4 separate regions of the Homo sapiens genome follow, and all the other regions are linked to region 1. Evidence: promoter capture Hi-C in 16 types of primary human blood cells and fetal thymus (Javierre and others, 2016). All regions are on one chromosome and are shown on one strand. Each heading gives the region's core, a stretch centred on a gene start or on the middle of the fragment in contact. The rest is flanking DNA. Distances are from core to core; before and after follow the strand shown.

Region 1 (2,819 bases), core at 320-2,819:
CTCTGCCTCCCGGGTTCACGCCATTCTCCTGCCTCAGCCTCCCGAGTAGCTGGGACTACAGGCGCGTGCCACCACGTCCCGCTAATTTTTTGTATTTTTTAGTAGAGAAGGGGTTTCACCATGTTAGCCAGGATGGTCTCTTATCTCCTGACCTCGTGATCCACCCGCCTCGGCCTCCCAAAGTGCTGGGATTACAGGCGTGAGCCACCGCGCCCGCCCCTGGAACTCATTTTTTAAAAAATTTTTTTGAGATGGAGTCTTGCTCTGTCACACAGGCTGGAGTGCAGCGGCGTGATCTCGGCTCACTGCAAGCTCCGCCTCCCGGGTTCACACCATTCTCCTGCCTCAGCCTCCCGACTAGCTGGGACTACAGGCGCCCACCACCACGCCAGGCTGATTTTTTGTATTTTTAGTAGAGACGGGGTTTCACGTGTTAGCCAGGATGGTCTCAATCTCCTGACCTCATGATACGCCCGCCTCGGCCTCCCAAAGTGCTGGGATTACAGGCATGAGCCTCAATTTTATATTTTGCCCTAGACTCTTATTCCTTAAATCTTCCTTAAAATAGTGGTTGCAAAATGGAGGCCCATGGGCTGGATTCAGCCTGTAAAACTGTTTTGTTTGGACTGTAGAGTTAAAAAAAACAAACAAACCCTGTATTTCCAGCATCTCATTAAAAATCGTATGAGGCACCGGACTTATAGTGGTACAAGACAGCAACTGTCTCTAGCTGACAGTTGTTTCCTTTAAAAGCCGTTAAGAGTTCTTTAATTTGCGAACCCTCGCCATTCACGGAATACCTGCTTGTGTTCTTGTATTCAGGGCACTGGAGTGCGTGCCAGCTGGTCTGGAAGCAGCTCCAGCAAGTCACTTACACGGTGGCCAGGGGCGGCCTGACTTTCAATCCGAGACCCGCCGGGAATGACTTTGGGATAATCACAACCTCCGGTCCTCAGTTTCCTTACCTGTGAAATGGGGCTGATAACGCACAGCTGTGGGAAGCACCGGCCCAAACGCAGGGCTTGGGGACACGACCACCATCCCCGCCCACGGGTCCCCGCGCCAGGCTTCGCTCTCCACCCCTCCCGCCGCGGGCCCCAGCGCTTCGCCGAGGTCGGCCCCGGGCGCCAAGAGGCGTGGTCGGCCCGAGCGGACCCTCGCGGCGGCCATGGCGTCGGTGGTGGAATACAAGGGCCTCAGGGCCGGCTACCACTGCGGCTACTGCGATTCCAAGGAGGGCAAAGCGTCCTGCGGTGAGTGTTCCCGACGCCGGAGTTGGCGCGGCCGCCGCGCCCCGCACAGGCCCTCGGCGGGGGAAAGGGCAGGCTCGCACCCCGACTCCCGCTTCCCTTCCCCTCTTGACTCTCCCCATCCTGTTTCCCTTCCCGCTCTGTCTCTCCGCCTCACCCTCACTGACGACGGCGGCCCCTTATGGAGAAGGAACGGAAATAGTGGAAAGCTGCCCTCGGTCAAGATGGCGCGGGCGGCGTCAGCTCCAAGAGGCGCCGGGCCGGCCGGGCCTGCGGGCGCCCGAGTGGCTTCGCGCGAGCCTCGGGAGGCTCCCGGGCGGCGCGCTGCATTGTGGGGTGGCGGCGGCGGCCGCGCTAGCGACGCGGGGCCGGGCGGCTGAGCGTTCGCGGGGCCGAGGCCATGGCTTTCTGGGCGGGGGGTTCGCCCAGCGTCGTGGACTATTTCCCTAGCGAGGACTTCTACCGCTGCGGCTACTGCAAGAACGAGTCGGGCAGCCGCTCCAATGGTGAGCGAGCCGGGCCGGCGGGCGTGGGAAGCCGGGCGCCCGGGTCTCGGGATCCCAGGGTCCCCCAGCGAGGACGCGAGGGGGCCGGAGCCCCTGGCCCCAGTGCCACGGCCGAGACGGAGGGGGCACTCTCGGGAGGGCCGCGGCGCCGGCTTAGCGGGGCAGCTTCGCGGTGCCTGTTCTGCAGGAAAATCCTAACCGGTGCCCGTACTCTCGAAATCGTGGTGGTCTCCCCAGAGTCGGGAGACGGACGCCCGTCTGGGGTAGATTGTGTGAGGTGAAGGACGGCGCGCAGTGCCAGGGAACGCCCCAGAGCCGTAGTTAATGGCCGGGGCTGACCGGTGGGTGCTGCGGTGGGAGCGTCCCGGGAGCGAGGGCGAAACGCGGTGCAGAGGGAGCTGTGGGTGTGCACACAGGTGCCGGTCATGTATGAATCAGACTTCCCTGGACGAATGTACAGGAAGGATGAGCCCTTTGCATCTCTGGGTTAAAAAAAAAAAAAGTTAAAAAAAAAAAGGACAAGAAACTGGTGACCGCGGTCGCTACCGGCGAGGGATTCTGTTTGTCCTGATCTGTTTGAAATTTTTACCATTTGCTTATATGCCGTGTCTTTCCTCCACCCACCCGGACGACAGCAAAGCCAGCCCACAAGTTTGTTTTGTTTTTCCATCGTGATTCAGATTTCTTTGGGGGAGATTTGTTGCTGGTAAACAAAACATCGTGTTTATTTCCTCTCTTGCCATGCATTTGCCAATATAGAATGTAGACTCTATTATTTTAATAGAACAGTCTAGCTTTGTGGAAAACGAGATTCGCATGAAAACACACAGGCATTTTCCATGAAAAAGGTGTAAGTGGGGAATGATTTGGTCGATAACGGTGTGTGCATTTGCTCCTTCATTAAAAGTGTTTATTAAGTGCTACTTGTGGGCAGCGGTTTTGAGTAGACAGTTATGCAATCGTTAGAAGTGAGGATTATGAAGACTAAATGGAAAAATGCTTCCAGTTTGGACTTAAACGGAGAAAATCAACAGGATGCAAATGGCTTATGCGACATGATTAC
Region 2 (2,876 bases), core at 204-2,703, 1.0 Mb after region 1:
AACGTGCCCGGCTCCAAATTCTCCTGCCTTCCATTGCCCTCTTCACACGCATCCTTTTCATCATCACGACACATCCATGTTCAGACCATAAGACAAGCACACAGCCACCTGAGAGCAATACACGCCCTCACAGCTCCTCACTGACCCACACTTCCACAAAGGCCCGAGAACCCAGAGGCAGCCTGGCAATTCTGTAGTGTCTCTGCCTTCTCTCGGCTTTAAAGGCTCCATTCCCTTTAAATGCTGGAGTACAGGCCATGGCTGACTTTCATGGGTGTCTTTCAACCCCAAGTAAATTATGAAAGAAAAAGAAAAGTGAAAAACTTACACATGAGAAATGTCCAAAGAATACTGTCCATTCCAAGGCTGGTGTAATAAGAAGGCTTTCAAGGCAAGAGAGGCCCTTGGAACAAGGAGATAGGGGCACCACACAGGCTCTAGACAACAAAGAAAGGTTTTTAAAAATAAAATGAAGTTTTATACTACAGTGAAGCTTCAGCTATAAACCATTTACAGAGCAGTCAGCAGAGAGCAACAGGTAAATCTGGAACAACTGAGAGTATATTCAATGTAGTCACCGCTTAGGAAACACAAGCCAAGAGCAGAGAGAGTCTCTGCATTCAAATCTGATTAACATATTTTTCTTTTCCCCCTTTTTTGATTTTTTATTTTATTTTTTTTTTGAGACAAAGCCTCGCTCTGTCACCTAGGCTGGAGTGCGGTGGTGCGATCTCGGCTCACAGCAACCTCCGCCTCCCGGGTTCAAGCGATTCTCCTGCCTCAGCCTCCGAAGTAACTGGGATTACAAGCACCTGCCACCATGCCTGGCTAATTTTTGCATTTTTAGTAGAGATGGGGTTTCACCATGTTGGCCAGACTGGTCTCAAACTCCTGACCTCAGGTGATCTGCCCACCTTGGCCTCCCAAAGTCCTGGGATTATAGGCATGAGCTACCACACCCGGCCTTCTTTTCCCCTTTAAAATTTAAGTATCCTGTGTGGTATACAACTCTGGTACTACTTGAATAAAGGATTCAATGCAATGATTCAACAAATAGCAACAAAGTTCATTATTTTTAAATATTAAAAATAAATATATTTACCTGTATGTACTTTTGTTTTTCCGAGACTATTCAACTAACATGGCCTATCAACCTTGAGTATGTCACTGAAGGGATCATGCCACCTGTGATCACTAGCATTCCCAGGTCTCACTTATAAAGGTAGCTGTTGAACACAGGGGCTATCTTCTTAGACTCTAGGCCCTAGCATCCCCCACATCCAGCAGCTGGCTTACTTAGAACACTAACAAGCAAGATTTGCCTAGTTGTCAACATGTTTCAGTGCAAAGAAGCAGAAGACCTAAAGGCTGCAATGCCCAGCAGCTCTGCTCTGACCACCCTACACTCTATCGGACTCGACCTTAGCTCCAAATTTCTAGGGGTGCCCTGGCTTTTACAACTTGGCCTTACTACCAACTCCCCTCCAGAATCCTGAAGAGGCTTTATCCATGGATCCCTTGAATAGACACAATTATGTAAAATGACACAAACTTATACATGGTGTTGGCTTATTTAAGTGACTGTATTTGTCTGTTTTCATGCTGCTGTAAAGAACTACCTGAGACAGGGTAATTTATAAAGAGAAGAGGTTTAATTGACTCAACAGTTCCGTATGGCTGGGGAGGCAAACTTACAATCATGGCAGAAGGTGAAGGGGAAGCAAGGCACATCTTACATGGCAGCAGGAGAGAGCCAGCGAGGGGGCAAGTGCCACACTTTTAAGCCATCAGATCTCCTAAGAACTCACTTACTATCGTGAGAACAGTAAGGGGGAAATCTGCCCCCATGATCCAATCACCCCCTACCAGCTGCCTCCCCTGACCTGTGGAGATTACAATTTGACATGAGATTTGGGTGGAGACACAGAGCCAAATCGTATCAGTGATCCACATCAACTCTGGACTGTGCAATTATCCAGTATGATATCCAATATGATAGTCACTTAACATATGGCTAGTATAATGAAGGAAATGAATGTTTGTCTAATTTAAACTTAAAAAGTGATTATTGATTCAGTCATTGGATAACTTTTAAATATGTTTGAAACAACTTGAATACATGCCTACTTTTTCAACTGAAAATTTTATAAAATCTAAATAGAGCTTAACTGTTTGTGCTGAAAATTTGTCCTATAAATTTTGAGGGCAATTCATTTTACAATAAATGTAAAATACTGACAGAATTTTGAAGAATGAATAATTTTAAAAAAGTAAAATGTCTCACTAGTAACTTTTAATACTGATTATATGTTGAAATAAAACTTTGGATATATTGGCTTAAATAAAATTTTAATTAAAATCAATTTCATCTCTTTTTACTTTTTAAAATGTGGATACTAGAATTTAAGCTTACCTATGTGGCTCACATTATGTTTCTATTGGAAAACTCTGCTTTAGAAAACTTTATTCTATGTAGTTAAATAAAAATTAAATTATACACAAAATATTTTATGTGGATTTTTCAATTTAAAAGCCAGAAAGTGATTGGAAATATTTTTAATAATACTTTTTTTTTACACCCAAGAATTTTAATATTGATTCAGTAAAATCACTTAAAATGCAGTCCAAATTCAAAAGTCCCTTGTTATTCCCCAAATGTCCTGGCAGCTGTATTATTTTTAAAAATCGGGTCCAGTCAAGGCTGGTACACTGCATTGTCATGTCTCTTTAGTCTATTCCAATCTAGAATGGTCCTCTTCCTTTTTGGTTTTGGCCTTATGTGACCTTTTCATTTTTGAAGAGTCCTGGTCAGCTGCTGTGGAGAATGCCCTACGTTCTAACTTGTCTGTTTTCTGATTATCAGATTCGGGTTAAAC
Region 3 (2,717 bases), core at 25-2,524, 1.0 Mb after region 1:
AGAATCTCATCATGTACCTCAATTAATTGATATACAGATTATGGTAAACATTCAATGAAAAAGTATGTAAAGTTTCTATCATTCTACTACAGTTGGTATTCAACAAATGCCACTTTATTCACTTTCTGTTAAGCCTGAAAGAAGTACTGAATGACATCAACGAGTGCAATTCAACAAATATAATTTGAGCACTGATTACTCAATAAGCATTATGAGGAACTAAAATATTATCAGCAAATGATGGCTGACATAGAGGAAATGTGACAGAGTAGGAAGATCCCTGTACTCCCTGTATCAAAGGACTGAGATTCTTCCACTCAGGACCATGTGTGACCCCAACAGAAAGTAGAAATTTACAGAAAGATACCTGGCAAAACACCCAAATAGTTTGAAGTTAAAAAATATACCTCTGAATAACACCCCATGGAAATTTTTAAAGATTATAATGTGAATTAAAATGAAAACATATAACCATAACAAAAATTGTAGGATACAGGAAAACTGGTGCTCATATAGCATTAACTGTTTACATTACATTTTAGAGAATCAACTTAATTCAATTATCTAAGTTTCTATTTTAGAAAACTATGTAAAAAAAGGAGAGCATATTTAAAAAGTAAGCAGAAGAACAAAAGATAAGCATGACAGACAATGAAATTGAAAATGGAAAAATCATAGAGAAGAATCAAATGAATCAAAAGTAGTTTCTTGGAAAAGATCAATAAATAAAATTGGTTGATATAATTTACTGATATTAGGAGTGGGAAAGATAATCACTGATCATAGATCCATGATGAACAAGCTTATTTCAATAAATTAATAAACTCAGCAACTTCAACAAAATGGACAGATTACTTGGAAGACACCAATTACCAAAGCTCAAAAAAAGAGAATCTAAATAGTCCTATATTTATGAAAAAAAAAAACAAAACTGAATTTGTATTTAAAAACTTTGCCACAAAGAAAATTTTAGGTTCAGATGGGTTTCCTAATAAATTTTTCCCATTTAGTAAGAATAATATCAATTCTACACAAACTCATTCAAAAAAAAAGGAGAGAGAATACTTTACAACACGTTCTGCAAGGTCAGTATTACCCTGATACCAAAACAAAGGATATTACATAAAAACGACACCAATATCCTTCATGAACATAGATATAAAAACTCTTAATAATATATCATAAAACTCTTAATAATATATCAATAAATCAAATCCAGCAATATGTCAAAACAGTAATACATCACGACCAACTAGAGTTTATTCCGGGAATGTCATGTTGGCTTAACATCTGAAAATCAATCAATGTAATTCACCATATTAGTGAACTTCAAAAAGAAAAACAAAATAACACACACACACCATATGATGATATCAATGAATACAGAAAAAGCATTTGATAAATTCAACACCTACTCATAATACAAAGGCTCAGCAAACTAGGAATAAAACTTTTTCAACTTGATAAAGGAAATATACAAAAAATCTACAGCTAGTATCATACTTAATGTTGAAAGACTGAATGCTTTCTCCATAAGGTCCAGGATCAGAGCAAAGATGTCAGCTCGTAGCTGACATCTCAGTTCTAATCAACACTATACAGGAGGTCCTAATTAGTGCAAGCAAAAAGAAGGCCTATAGATCGAAAAGATGTAAAGATGTCTTTACTAGCAAACGAGACTGTCTCTATAGAAAATCCTAAAGAATTAACAAAAGCACCTATACTAGAAGTAATAACTAAGCTTAGCATGGTCACAAGGCACAAGGTCAATATCAGAAAATTAACTGTATTTTAATATACAAATAATAAATAATTGAAATTTAAAAATGTCATTTATAAAAGCATCAAAGAAAACACAAAATAAACAAATAATATGTAAGACTTACACACTGAAAACTACAAAATATTGCTGAAATTTTAAAAGACCTAAATAAGTGGAGAGACATACCATGTTCATGAGTTACAAAACTTGTTAAGATACCAATTCTTCCCCTCACTGATTGATGGGTTCAATGCAATCCCAATCAAAATCTCAGGAAGATTTTTTGATAAAACTGATAGTCTGATTCTAAAATTTATATGGAAATGCAAAGATCTTAGAAAAGCCAAAACAAGTTTGAAAACTACTTTAGAAAGCTTACTCTTTCTTTGTAATTTTGATTGATTTTCATTCAGTTTCTATTTTTAATAATACTGCTTTACATGTTATTTTCCCCTGAAACAAAAAAACTCAATTTCTGGAAGCAAAATGAGTTTAAATTATACATAAAGAAAATGAGTTCTTTCACTCAGTAACTCCATGCTTAGATAGAAGTACATAAGAACTTTATCCGAAAGTAAATAACGATTCATGCAAAAGTTACTTCATCTTTTTAGAAGTAGAGAATTAAAAGTGATAGCAACTTAATTTTGTAATCAAAATATTTTCTTTGGGCTGCATATCACCATTTGCTATCACTAAAAAGATTCCATATGCATTCCAGCACATTCCCATTTTCTTAAAGATTAAAAAAATCCACGAGATTTCATTGTGATAACACCATAGATTTTTTTTTAGGTTGACACTTACTTCAAATGAGATACTTTAATCATTTCGATGGCAGATTCATCATTGCCTCTTTCACCACGAAAAGCAATGCTCCTACCTTTAATTGCAAATATTTAAAAAAGTGAGAACAGTGCATAAAACATGTATGAAAAACAAGAAGCCACGCCAA
Region 4 (2,700 bases), core at 176-2,675, 1.0 Mb before region 1:
GTAATCCAGCAAGCTATATTACATCATTTTGATATTCTCTTATAGTTCTGAATTTGAAAGGATTGCATTTTACTTATTTCAGTAAACGTTTTACATGAGCATTTGGACAGACTTATTTTGTGTTAAGTAGCAAGTTGTGGTGTGTTAAGGTCTCAGATTGGTATATAGCAGTTCTCCTTTATCTGCAGTTTCACTTTCCACAGTTTCCATTACCCACAGTCAACTGAGGTCCAAAAATATTAAATGGAAAATTTCAGAAATAAACAATTCATAAGTTTTAAATTGTGCTTCATTCAGCGTAGTGTGATCGAATCTCCTGCCATCCTGCTCAGTCCTGTCTGGAACATGAATCATCCTTTTGTCTAGTATGTCCCTGCTGTATATGTTACTGCCCATTAGCCACTTACTAGCCAAATGTATCATCAGAAGGTCAGTAGTAGCCTAATCCTGTATTACAATGCCTGTGTCATTCACCTCACTTCATCTCATTATGTAGGCATTTTATCATGTCACGTCATTACAGGAAGGGTAAGTATTGCACAGTAAGATTTAGAGAGAGGAGACCATATTCACATAACTTTTATTATGTTGTCAAAATTACTCTATTGTTAAACTCTTACTATACCTAATTTATAAATTAAACTTTATCATAGGTATGTATGTATAGGAAAAAATATAGGGGTTGGTACTATATGCAATTTCAGGGAGCCACTGGAGGTCTTAGAACACATTCTCCACAGATAAAGAGGAACTACTATAGTTTATTTTTAGTTCTTTAAATAGGTAAACATTTATTTAATCACCTCATTTGTTATTTTACATGAAGTCTTAATTTTTGAAAGGACTCTTATTTAAATAGTTCATCTGAGCCTCATGATAAATTGGAATTTTTCCTGACTATTGCTGTTCTAGAGAAAAGTTTAAAATATACTTGAAGTTAATTTTTAGATTCTTGAATACTTCACTCTTGTTTAGGTCATACCAAGAAGTTACATTAAATGATTATTGTTTTTAATATCATTCTTTTCTGGAACTTTTGTTTTATAATAGTTGCTCTCCTTTGGCGAAAGGCAGTGTGTGTTCATCAGTAAAGTTGTGGTACACATGAGATCAGTTTTTGCAAATTCTTCAACAAGCTCTCCTGCTCTAGGATCAAGGATAGACCTTGACAAGGTCCAAACCATAATGGAGTCCATGGGGTCAAAGTTATCTCCTGGAGCTCAGCAGTTGATGGATATGGTTAGGTGTCAGCAGCGGGTAAGTAGAAATGGATTTCTTTCCAGATAACATTAATGATTTCAAAACCATTGCTTTTAGTAAAGAAATGTAGTGACTTAAAATTTTTCTTTCATACTGATTTAACTGTTATCTTTTAGTTTTGTAGAAGTTAACATTTGTTAGATTTGCCCTTCTACAAAGTGTTTTGACTACACATTTTCACACTTTTTATGAATGCATTCATTCATTCAGCAAGATTTTTTTCTTGCAGTAAACAAGGCACTGGTTTGAGCAATTTTGAGTGTGCGAAGATGGTCAGTTAATCTGTAGTCTTTAAGAATTTTTACATTCTGGAGCATGTAAGTGGGGAATGATGAAAACACTAAGGAAAGGCTCACTAAAAGAAGTGGTATTTTATCTAGGCCTTTAAAATGTAGGGTGGGATTAGACAAGTAAATTTGGAAGAAGGCCATTTCAGACAAAAAATAAGGTGAATAAAATCTTCAATGCTAGAAGAATTTGATATAGCTGGGAAATGAATGGTAGTTCATTTCTCTGAAGCAAAAAAGTAATAGGCAAAGTTTAAAGTAGATTTCAGCTAGATCATAAACAGCTTGGGATGCTGGTTTAAATTTGTAGATGTTTTTGACTTATGTTTCAAGAAATTTTAAGCCACTGTCAAGTGTAAGGTGAATCTGAAGAAAGTGAGACTACAAGGAGAAGATGAGCTGCACGTCATTCCCCTCGTCCAGATGAGAGTGAATGAGGTCTAAGATTGGACGTAGTAACATAATGCTGGATGCTAAATGATGCTAAAATGATGGAGCCATTGGGACTTGACAGCTAACTTAATATTGGTATTATGATAGAAAAATCAAGTTAAACATGAAATTGAGGCTTTGAAGATGGTGATACTAATAATATAAATGCAGCCCAAAGGAGGAGGATGCTTGGAGGAAAAAGGAATTTAATTTTGGGAACATTGACTTTTAGCTGTGAATAAGACATTCCCTGGAAGGATGTTGCAAACATCTGGAAACAGAGGATTAGGAGAAATGGAATGAACCTTCAGTGGCTGGAAGGGAAGTTTAGGGGTGTACCCACAGTAGCTGACGGAGGGTGGTGAAGGGAGAGGAAAAAGGAACCAGAAACATAGAAGGCAGCAGTGTGATAGAGTAGCAAGAGAAACGATTTGATGTCAGGTAAAGTGACTTCAAACTCTTGTCCTGCCTCTTCTTAGTTCTGCATCCTATGGCAAGTTAATTAATATTTTTTTCAATATGAATTCCTCATGTACAAAATCTAAATGATAACACTGTAAGGATCACAGAATTGATGTGAAAATTTAAAATAAGTAATGCAAGTAAAGAACTCCTTGTAGATGTTGTGTGGTTCACAAATATTAATGTAGTACCAGTATTATAATATGGGCTGAGTTAAGAGAACCAGGAGAGCTGAAGATTATGGAAACCACAGAAAGAA

The links. Contacts are between HindIII fragments. The CHiCAGO score rates a contact against its expected background, and 5 or more counts as called.
Region 2: a contact is called between a fragment that was not itself captured here and the fragment with the promoter of ATE1 in region 1, in 1 of 17 cell types (M2 macrophages). The highest score is 5.5, in M2 macrophages.
Region 3: a fragment that was not itself captured here is called in contact with the fragment with the promoter of ATE1 in region 1 in 2 of 17 cell types (M1 macrophages and M2 macrophages); the score reaches 6.6 in M1 macrophages.
Region 4: a contact is called between a fragment that was not itself captured here and the fragment with the promoter of ATE1 in region 1, in 2 of 17 cell types (total CD4 T cells and naive CD8 T cells). The highest score is 8.2, in total CD4 T cells.

Annotation. Positions count from the first base shown.
Region 1 is chr10:121,926,781-121,929,599 of GRCh38, reverse strand. It overlaps ATE1 (arginyltransferase 1), which reads left to right and starts at 1,569. Exons shown (of 12, transcript NM_001001976.3): 1 at 1,569-1,756. The coding sequence starts at 1,651. It also overlaps the pseudogene ATE1OSP. RefSeq lists silencers at 988-1,287, 1,478-1,897 and enhancers at 803-1,669, 2,208-2,357. The HindIII fragment of the contact is 6,802 bases long and covers 1-2,819 here.
Region 2 is chr10:120,897,590-120,900,465 of GRCh38, reverse strand. WDR11 (WD repeat domain 11) reads right to left here. Exons shown (of 29, transcript NM_018117.12): 20 at 329-437. Among named protein-coding and RNA genes, the nearest start is that of WDR11, 48 kb to the right of the region's middle. The HindIII fragment of the contact is 1,915 bases long and covers 496-2,410 here.
Region 3 is chr10:120,880,754-120,883,470 of GRCh38, reverse strand. It overlaps WDR11 (WD repeat domain 11), which reads right to left. Exons shown (of 29, transcript NM_018117.12): 13 at 2,570-2,645. Among named protein-coding and RNA genes, the nearest start is that of WDR11, 31 kb to the right of the region's middle. The HindIII fragment of the contact is 939 bases long and covers 805-1,743 here.
Region 4 is chr10:122,947,206-122,949,905 of GRCh38, reverse strand. C10orf88 (chromosome 10 open reading frame 88) reads left to right here. Exons shown (of 6, transcript NM_024942.4): 4 at 1,051-1,257. Among named protein-coding and RNA genes, the nearest start is that of C10orf88, 5.7 kb to the left of the region's middle. The HindIII fragment of the contact is 3,733 bases long and covers 1-2,700 here.